Regions from separate parts of the Homo sapiens genome. Here region 2 is linked to region 1. Evidence: promoter capture Hi-C in human tissues and cell types (Jung and others, 2019). All regions are on one chromosome and are shown on one strand. Each heading gives the region's core, a stretch centred on a gene start or on the middle of the fragment in contact. The rest is flanking DNA. Distances are from core to core; before and after follow the strand shown. Region 1 holds the start of BAZ2B (bromodomain adjacent to zinc finger domain 2B). Region 2 overlaps TANC1 (tetratricopeptide repeat, ankyrin repeat and coiled-coil containing 1).

The links. The method cuts DNA at HindIII sites, captures the fragments that hold promoters and counts their contacts. A contact is called where the count stands out against the background at its distance.
Region 2: a fragment that was not itself captured here is called in contact with the fragment with the promoter of BAZ2B in region 1 in 1 of the 25 tissues and cell types used here (dorsolateral prefrontal cortex).

What each region holds. Positions count from the first base shown.
Region 1 is chr2:159,614,647-159,618,300 of GRCh38, reverse strand. BAZ2B (bromodomain adjacent to zinc finger domain 2B) reads left to right here and starts at 1,753. Exons shown (of 37, transcript NM_013450.4): 1 at 1,753-2,059. BAZ2B-AS1 (BAZ2B antisense RNA 1) reads right to left here and starts at 3,007. Exons shown (of 2, transcript NR_110588.1): 1 at 2,848-3,007; 2 at 259-2,551. RefSeq lists enhancers at 1,664-1,733, 1,984-2,063, 1,691-2,217, 3,274-3,654. The HindIII fragment of the contact is 5,037 bases long and covers 1-3,654 here.
Region 2 is chr2:158,976,591-158,980,270 of GRCh38, reverse strand. The region is part of intron 1 of TANC1 (tetratricopeptide repeat, ankyrin repeat and coiled-coil containing 1); the gene reads right to left. Among named protein-coding and RNA genes, the nearest start is that of TANC1, 9.8 kb to the right of the region's middle. The HindIII fragment of the contact is 3,973 bases long and covers 1-3,326 here.

The DNA.
Region 1 (3,654 bases), core at 504-3,003:
TAAATTATGCATTTGAACCTTAGGCCAGTTTTTACTGTAGAGACAGTTTGCTGCTAAAAGAGAAATTGTATGTCATTGAAATTAAATGCTTTTCTGGGGATGGAAGATTCCAGTTTTTAATGAAATTACTGAGTGTGGTGTAGTGAAATGATTAAAATCTGTATTCCGGGAATGTGGCAGGGAAAAAAAATCAATAAGTGCTAGCACAGCTTTGCTGCTCAATGTGAATCCTGAGAATGAAATAAACTACTACAAAAATAATAATTAAAAACATATCAGCACATTAATTTATTTAGCATCAGTCTCCTGAGACATCATCTTCACTAATTTTTAGCATACATTTTACTCTGTAATGAGCAGCCTTCTTTTCAGATATCCCTATTAGACAGGCAGTATTTCTGCCCTTCCCCCAGTGCTCCTGCATTGCAATCATTGTACTTGCACTTATTATGTTACAAATGACCGAGGTAAGGCTGACATTCTCAGTGCATGCAAAAAGACCGAGTCTGCCAAGCTTTTTTTTTTTCCTAATGAAGCAGCTTTGTGAAATCTCCCCATGTGTTAATACTAATGAAGATCCTCCAGCACAATTAAAATCACAGCCAGTGGCTGAAGAGGAAACATAAAACAATAGCATCTTTTAAGATACATTTATCCACATATGTATAAAATATACATAGATGATCAAATTATTCTCCGATAGCTTAATTTTTACTTACTCTTCATCCTGAAAATTAAATTATGCAATTTTTAATTATATGAACTTTGAGACTTTCTTGTGTTCTGGAGGGAAAAAACGGTACCTCAACGAACTTCTAAAAAAAAAAATACGTATCTTCTTGGCTAATAAAGTGTTATCAAGATTAAGGCTTTTAAAAAAATTGTTTTTAGGAATCTATAGGATGGGGTGCGGGAGGGAATGGGGCCTATTGTATCTTTAGTTTAACTTGATTGGTTGCAGGATTTGGGAATTGGGGTTGGGGGAGTGGAAGGGTAAAAACAAAGTTGGAAGAGATTCTGGGGGTAGACCATAGCATATGACTGCATTTGTAGTTTAAAGGAGCAAAGGGCTACCAGTCTTACTCATAACTTGATTTTTAAAAAGTGTTCAGTGCCTACAATTTGCTATGCTTTTTTTCTAATCTCTCAGAAACTTGAAAAAAAGCTATCGAGATTACCTTTTACAGTGTGTGCATATAACTTTAAAACGACTATTTTAACGTCTTTTATTTAAATTTTATTTTAACTTAGTGCATAAACATTACAGCCAGTTTAACTTGTCCGTGGAAAGGCAGTAGAATTTTACCCCGGGACCGTCTTGCATACTGCTTTTTTTGAGTTTTAACATCCGCAAAATCTTGGCATATTAATTTAGTTGGGTTGTAGAATTCTGAGTTTAGGAACAAAAAAAATTTAGGTGGAGATGGTTGACCTATGCTCCCTACTCTGTAGCTTTTGTTTTTTTAAAAACTAAGTTTTAAATCCCGTTTTCTGTCCTGTCTTCTTTAAAAGCAAAACAAAACATTTTAAGTTTCTTAACTTTTTCCTGGGACAAGGAACGGTGCAAACTCAAAGCTACAGTATTCTTGGAAAGAAGAAGCAACCCCCTCCCTTGGCTCCTTTAGGAGCTGATAGGTCATTTATTATTGGAACTGAAATGGTATAAACAATTCTCTCTCTTTTTTTCCCTTGTTAACAGCAACTTTCATTGTTAGAGAGAGGAGAGAGAGAGAAGCCTTGTTGGTTGACGTCACTTGGTTCATGAAGCCTTCGCCTAGAAGTGAAGCTGCTGAACAAACCTTGAGAAGAATCATCTCCTGCTTCAATCTGCTGCTGGATAGGAACTAATCAGAGAGAGAGAGGCGGAAGACGGAGAAGGAGGGAGTCGAAGGCTTTCCCGATCACAAATCTCACCTCCACTACAACTCTCTTTATACTTTTCTTGCAGAAATAATAATAGAAATAAGGAGGTGGTGGGGTTTCCAAAAATCTTAACCTTCAACCATCTGGGGAAAAGGCAAAAATCCCATCTACCGCAACTCTCAGTTCGAGAGTAAAGGTGAGTTTAAAATCCTCGGGCGTGAGGGGTGCGGGTGAGGATGTAAATTCCCAGTGTTACAAAGCCGGTGGAAACAGCAGCGGAGAAACTGCGCTCGGGCAAGCGGGGGACTCCGGAGTTGCTGCGTGGAGGCGCTCGCCCCGCCGCCCTCTCGCCCTCCGCCGCTGTTTATCCTCGCCGGTCGGTGCGGCTCTTTGTTGTGGTGGCCGGAAGGCTGGGGTGGTTCTCGGGGTCCCGAGTGGAGTTTGGGGGAGGAGGACACGGAGATGTGCCGTCCTGGGTGGGAGGTGGGGGGTGCGGCCTCAGGAGAACGTAAACTTTATTCCTAGAAGCCGGTGCGGGACTTCGCTGGAGTAGGGCCGTGGGTTGTGCTCCCGGCCGGGCAGGCGCTGCCGCCGCGAGTCCGCCGCCTTTGTGCCGGCCGCCCTGGCTTCGCGTCTCCTTCCTCTTCCCCTTCGGCTTCCAGCGCTCAGGTCGCCGCCAACAGTTTTGCTTCTTAAAAAACAACCTCTGTCAGCGTTGCGATGGCCGTTCCTACCCCGGAATATCCGCTGCTCCCCCACTCCCTGCCGGGGTAGTTTCTGGATCACCCCCCACCCCCGTCCGCCTCCTGCTGCCCTTTTTTGCCTCCGCCCCCTCTTCCCTGTCGGACTGACGAGCTGCGTCTGCCACCCCCACTCCCCGGCTTGGGCCTCTAGCTCTCCCGTGTGTAGCTGGAGGCTCTGAGTTTACTGAAGATGAGCGGGGGTGGGGGTGGGGCAGGTGGGATTGGGAAAAGATCTGGATACCTGGGAAGGTCTATGTCAGCACGCAGAAGGTTTGAGGAGCATTGCTTCTCATACAGTAAGGTCTGTGCCTTGGTCTCATGTTTTAGCAGTTCTTCCCCGGGAACGACCGCCAGCTCCCAACTCCTCTGCTTCCCTCTTTTAATCTTCTTGTCGCTACCCCTCCCCCCAGCCCCCGTTCTCTTTCGCGGCTCCCTCCCCTTTAAGTAGTTTCACGAACCCCAGAATTGGGATTTGAGAAGGGGAAGGAAGTGTTTGAAGAGTCAGAGCTGGCTCTGTTGTTTGGGAGATTTTCTCTTCTTTTCTTTCTCCCTCTGTATTTATCTTTTGTCTGTTGCTTCCTTATAAAGAGGGAAGCAGCTGCAGTCCTTGGCCGAGTTGTTGAAATTTATCCCTTTGTGTATATTACAATATCCTCCATTTTTTTTCCTGCCCTCTAAACAACAAGCGTTTCGCCATCTTGGGCAATTTTATTCCCAAGTCTCTCTCTTTTTTATTTTTGAGGAAAGGAAAGAAGTATTAGGAAGTGTGTCTGGATAAGTCTCAAAGTTTAGGGAATGTTCAGGGGGCCCAGTGACGTCATGTAAACTTTACGGAGAAATTTTCCCAAGAGTAAATTTTTTGCTTAATTTTTCTCCTGTTTTATAGGATTGTGTAACTTACAGGTTACTGATAAGTTGTGTGGCTTATTTTTGTGTTTTGCTCTCAAAATCAGTATACGAAGTCTGCGTATTGTATGTTTTGGTAACAGGTGGAAGATTATATGCAAAAAATGGTAAAAAACTTGTGCGTCATTTGTTATTTATCTGG
Region 2 (3,680 bases), core at 91-2,590, 640 kb after region 1:
AATGTGTTTGGAAAACACTGACTACTCTATTTCCCTTCCAGGATATTTATAATGAACACTAGATCTAAGGGTGCTCAAAAGTCCTGTAGTTAAAAACAAAAATACCTGGTTTACTTTGGTTAACCCAGATTTTCCCACTTATTTGACCACAGGACTTTTTTCCCTGCGTAACACCTGTTAACTTCCTAAGACTCAGTTTCCCCCAGAATGCATTTTGGGAATTCTTGCTTTACTTAAATAAATCCTAAGAAAAATAAGGCCCTCTTAAGTTACATGGATGATTCACCAACCCCTGAATAAGAATTTCACAATTGCATCTATTTGCAATTTAGGAGCCACTCACTGTTTTGATGTCTTTTGCATCTATAAATATGTTTACTCTTTAACATGTTTTGATTTATAAGTCAGACTCTTTCTACAATATGAAATCCCACTGCAAAAGTTCTTTGAAATGGAATTAACTTAATTTATTCAAACCCATTGCCTTGGGAATCTACAATGAAACAAATTTCAAATTGTCAAACCATACCTACTTTTTACTTTCAAAACTACCTTAAGATATTTCAAAGCTTTCCCTAACCCTTTCCAAAGACTCATGAAAATAAATTACTGGATTTACAGTAGCCAAGAACAACAACAACAAAAAACCTTGAAATCAAAGCTCTTTTGAGTCTTTCAGTTGGTACTTAGGGTTTCCAGGACCAGAAATAAAAGCCCCACAGATTCCCATCTTTATGAAAACGGTAAGTTTTTTTTTTTCTTTTTTCTTTTTTTTTTGAGATAAGGACTTGCTCTGTCGCCAAGGCTAGAATGCAGTGCTGTAATCACAGCTAACTGCAGCCTCAACCTCCCAGGCTCAAGCGACCCTCCCACCTCAGTCTCCCACGTAGCTGAGACCACAGGCATGGTACCACCATGCCTGGCTAATTTTTAAAAAAAAATTTTGTAGAGACAGAGACTTCCTATGTTGCCCAGGCTGGTCTGAAATTCCTTGGCTCAAGAGATCCTCCTACCTCAGCCTCCCAAAGTACTAGAATTATAGGCATGAGCAACCACACTCAGCTAAGTGGTCCTATGCTTATAAACAGATCCTTTGGAAAAACTGAACTGGATCCCAAAAGAGATTCACCTTAATCATGAATTCTACTTACTCCACAGGTGAAAGTTTCACAGCAAGATTTTAAGTAATATCTGCAGTTCATCTGAAAAAAATTATATCATATTCCATTTAAGAACCCCAACACTTAAAAACTCATTACACTTAAAAACTCATTGGAAATGCCCTTAAAAATGGCCAACAAAGAAATCTGAGCTAGAAGTCTCTGATGCAAGAAAACAACCAAATTTGATGTTCCCTTGCCTCTAAGGAGGCAATTTATAATGTTCAAAACACTTTATATACATTCTGTCATTTGACCCTCAAAACCCTGGAGACATGTCTGTCTTCCATCAGGGGAGCATATATCTAACATAGCTCAACTTGAAAGCCTACAACTTGTGAACTCTCAACTATCTTTGCATAGAGGGAATACTGACATAGATAACTCTATTCAGCTAAGCACTACAGAGCCCATCACCTCCCATCTCCCAGTGGGGATGCTCAGGCCAGATCCTACCCTGGGGAGTTATCGCCCATGATTTTGCTTTGTGGTAGTTGCAGACAGCTCACTATCTGCAGGCATTTAGATCTTCATACATCTCATCCACCAGGCCTTTCGTGTTACTCCACAAGGACTCTCCCTTGAACTCACTGCATCTGCTAGGATTGTCTTTAATGTTTTTGCACTATCATCCTATGGAACCTCCCATTTCACCTGTGTCAGTGTTCCCATGTGAAAGAACATGGCACTGTAAATAACATGCATGAGGGCACACAAACCAGCCAGGAAATAAAAATTTTCCAGGTCTGAATCCTGGGTCCTGCTGTCTTGGTTCTGTGAGCTCCCTGCCCTCAATCTCCTTTCATGTACATGGAGCTCCCTGCCTTCCTAAGGCTGCCAGAAGGCTGGAGGCGAGACCCACCCCAGAGTAACAAGTCCAGAGTGATGTTTAACAACTGTGGATTCTCTGTCTCCCTTTCTCCCAAAGGAGAAACAGATTGTTTTCTTTTTAAATGAGAAAGGTAAGACAGGACCCCCTACCATCAAAAAGCCTACAACCCATCTGCAAAGCCAATAGGCGAACAACTTAATAATAAAAAGCAAACAGAGAAAGACATTATAATGAATGTACAATGTACTAGGGAGACTAAAAGGAAAGAAAAACTGAAATGTGGAAGCGGGAGTAAATCAGAAAAAATGTTCATAAGAAAGCAATATTTATTTAAGCTAGCCCTTGAAAGTCAAAATTTCAGTGGTGGTGGTAGGGTGAGGGAAGAGGCAAAATTGAAACAAAGTATCAGGGACGGGCAGGAGTTCAGTGGTATTAGCAGAGACAAGGAGAGGACAGCTGGGCCTGCAAACAAGTTAGGGTCCAGATCACAGAGATTCTTGAAAGCTAAGAATAAAACAGGGACAGCTACTACTCTTATCTGTCCTTATATCAGGTATGATGCTTTCAGCTGCAAGTAACAAAAATACCTAACTCTAAGTGACTTAAATTGTGGTATCAAAGCTTTTTTGATCACGCAGGACTATCAGTTAAAAAAAAAAAAAAAAATTAGCCAGGCACGGTGGCTCATGCCTGTAATCCCAGCACTTTGGGAGGCCGAGGCGGGCAGATCACTTGAGCTCAGGAGTTTGAGACCAGCCTGGCCAACATGGTGAAACCCCATGTCTATGAAAAATACAAAAATTAGCCAGGTGTGGTGGTGCACACCTGTAATCCCAGCTATTCAGGAGGCTGAGGCAGGACAATCACTCGAACCCAGGAGGCAGAGGCTATGGTGAGCTGAGACAGCACCACTGCACTCCAACCTGGGCAACAGAGAAAGTTTCCATCTCAAAAAAAAAATTTTTTTTTAATTAAGCCAGGTGTGATGGTGCACACCTGTAGTCCCAGATACTTGGGAGTCTGAGGGGACAGGATCACTTGAGCCCAGGAGTTGGAGGCTGCAGTGAACTATCATCACACCACTGTACTCCAGCTTGGGCAACAGAGCAAGACTCCCTCTAAAAAAATAAAAAGTAAAAAATTTTAAAAACGTATTGAAGCTCAGGAATTTCAGGGGAAAAAATTTATAACATATATACTAACATATTATAAATTGTATTAATTTATGTGTAATTAAAACTAGTTATGAATGGTATGTATACACACACATGAATGTAGTATATACATTATACAACATTTAAAACTTTTAAAGGATGGGAGTCAAACAGTATTTTTAAGTTCATTTTTATTAATAATACAAATCCAAACATAATTTTGTTGTTGTTGTTGTTGTTTTTCAAGACGGAGTCTCATTCTGCCGCCGAGGCTAGAGTTCAGTGGCACAATCTTGGCTCACGGCAACCTCCACCTCCCAGGTTCAAGTGATTCTCCTGCCTCAGCCTCTCGAGTAGCTGAGATTACAGGTGTACACTACCACACCTGGCTAATTTTTGTATTTTTAGTAGAGACGGGGTTTCACCATGTTGGCCAGGCTGGTCTTAAACTCCTGACCTCAGGTGATCTGCCCGCCTTGGCCTCCCAAAGTGCTGGGATTACAGGCATGAGTCACCGCGCTCAGCCCATACATA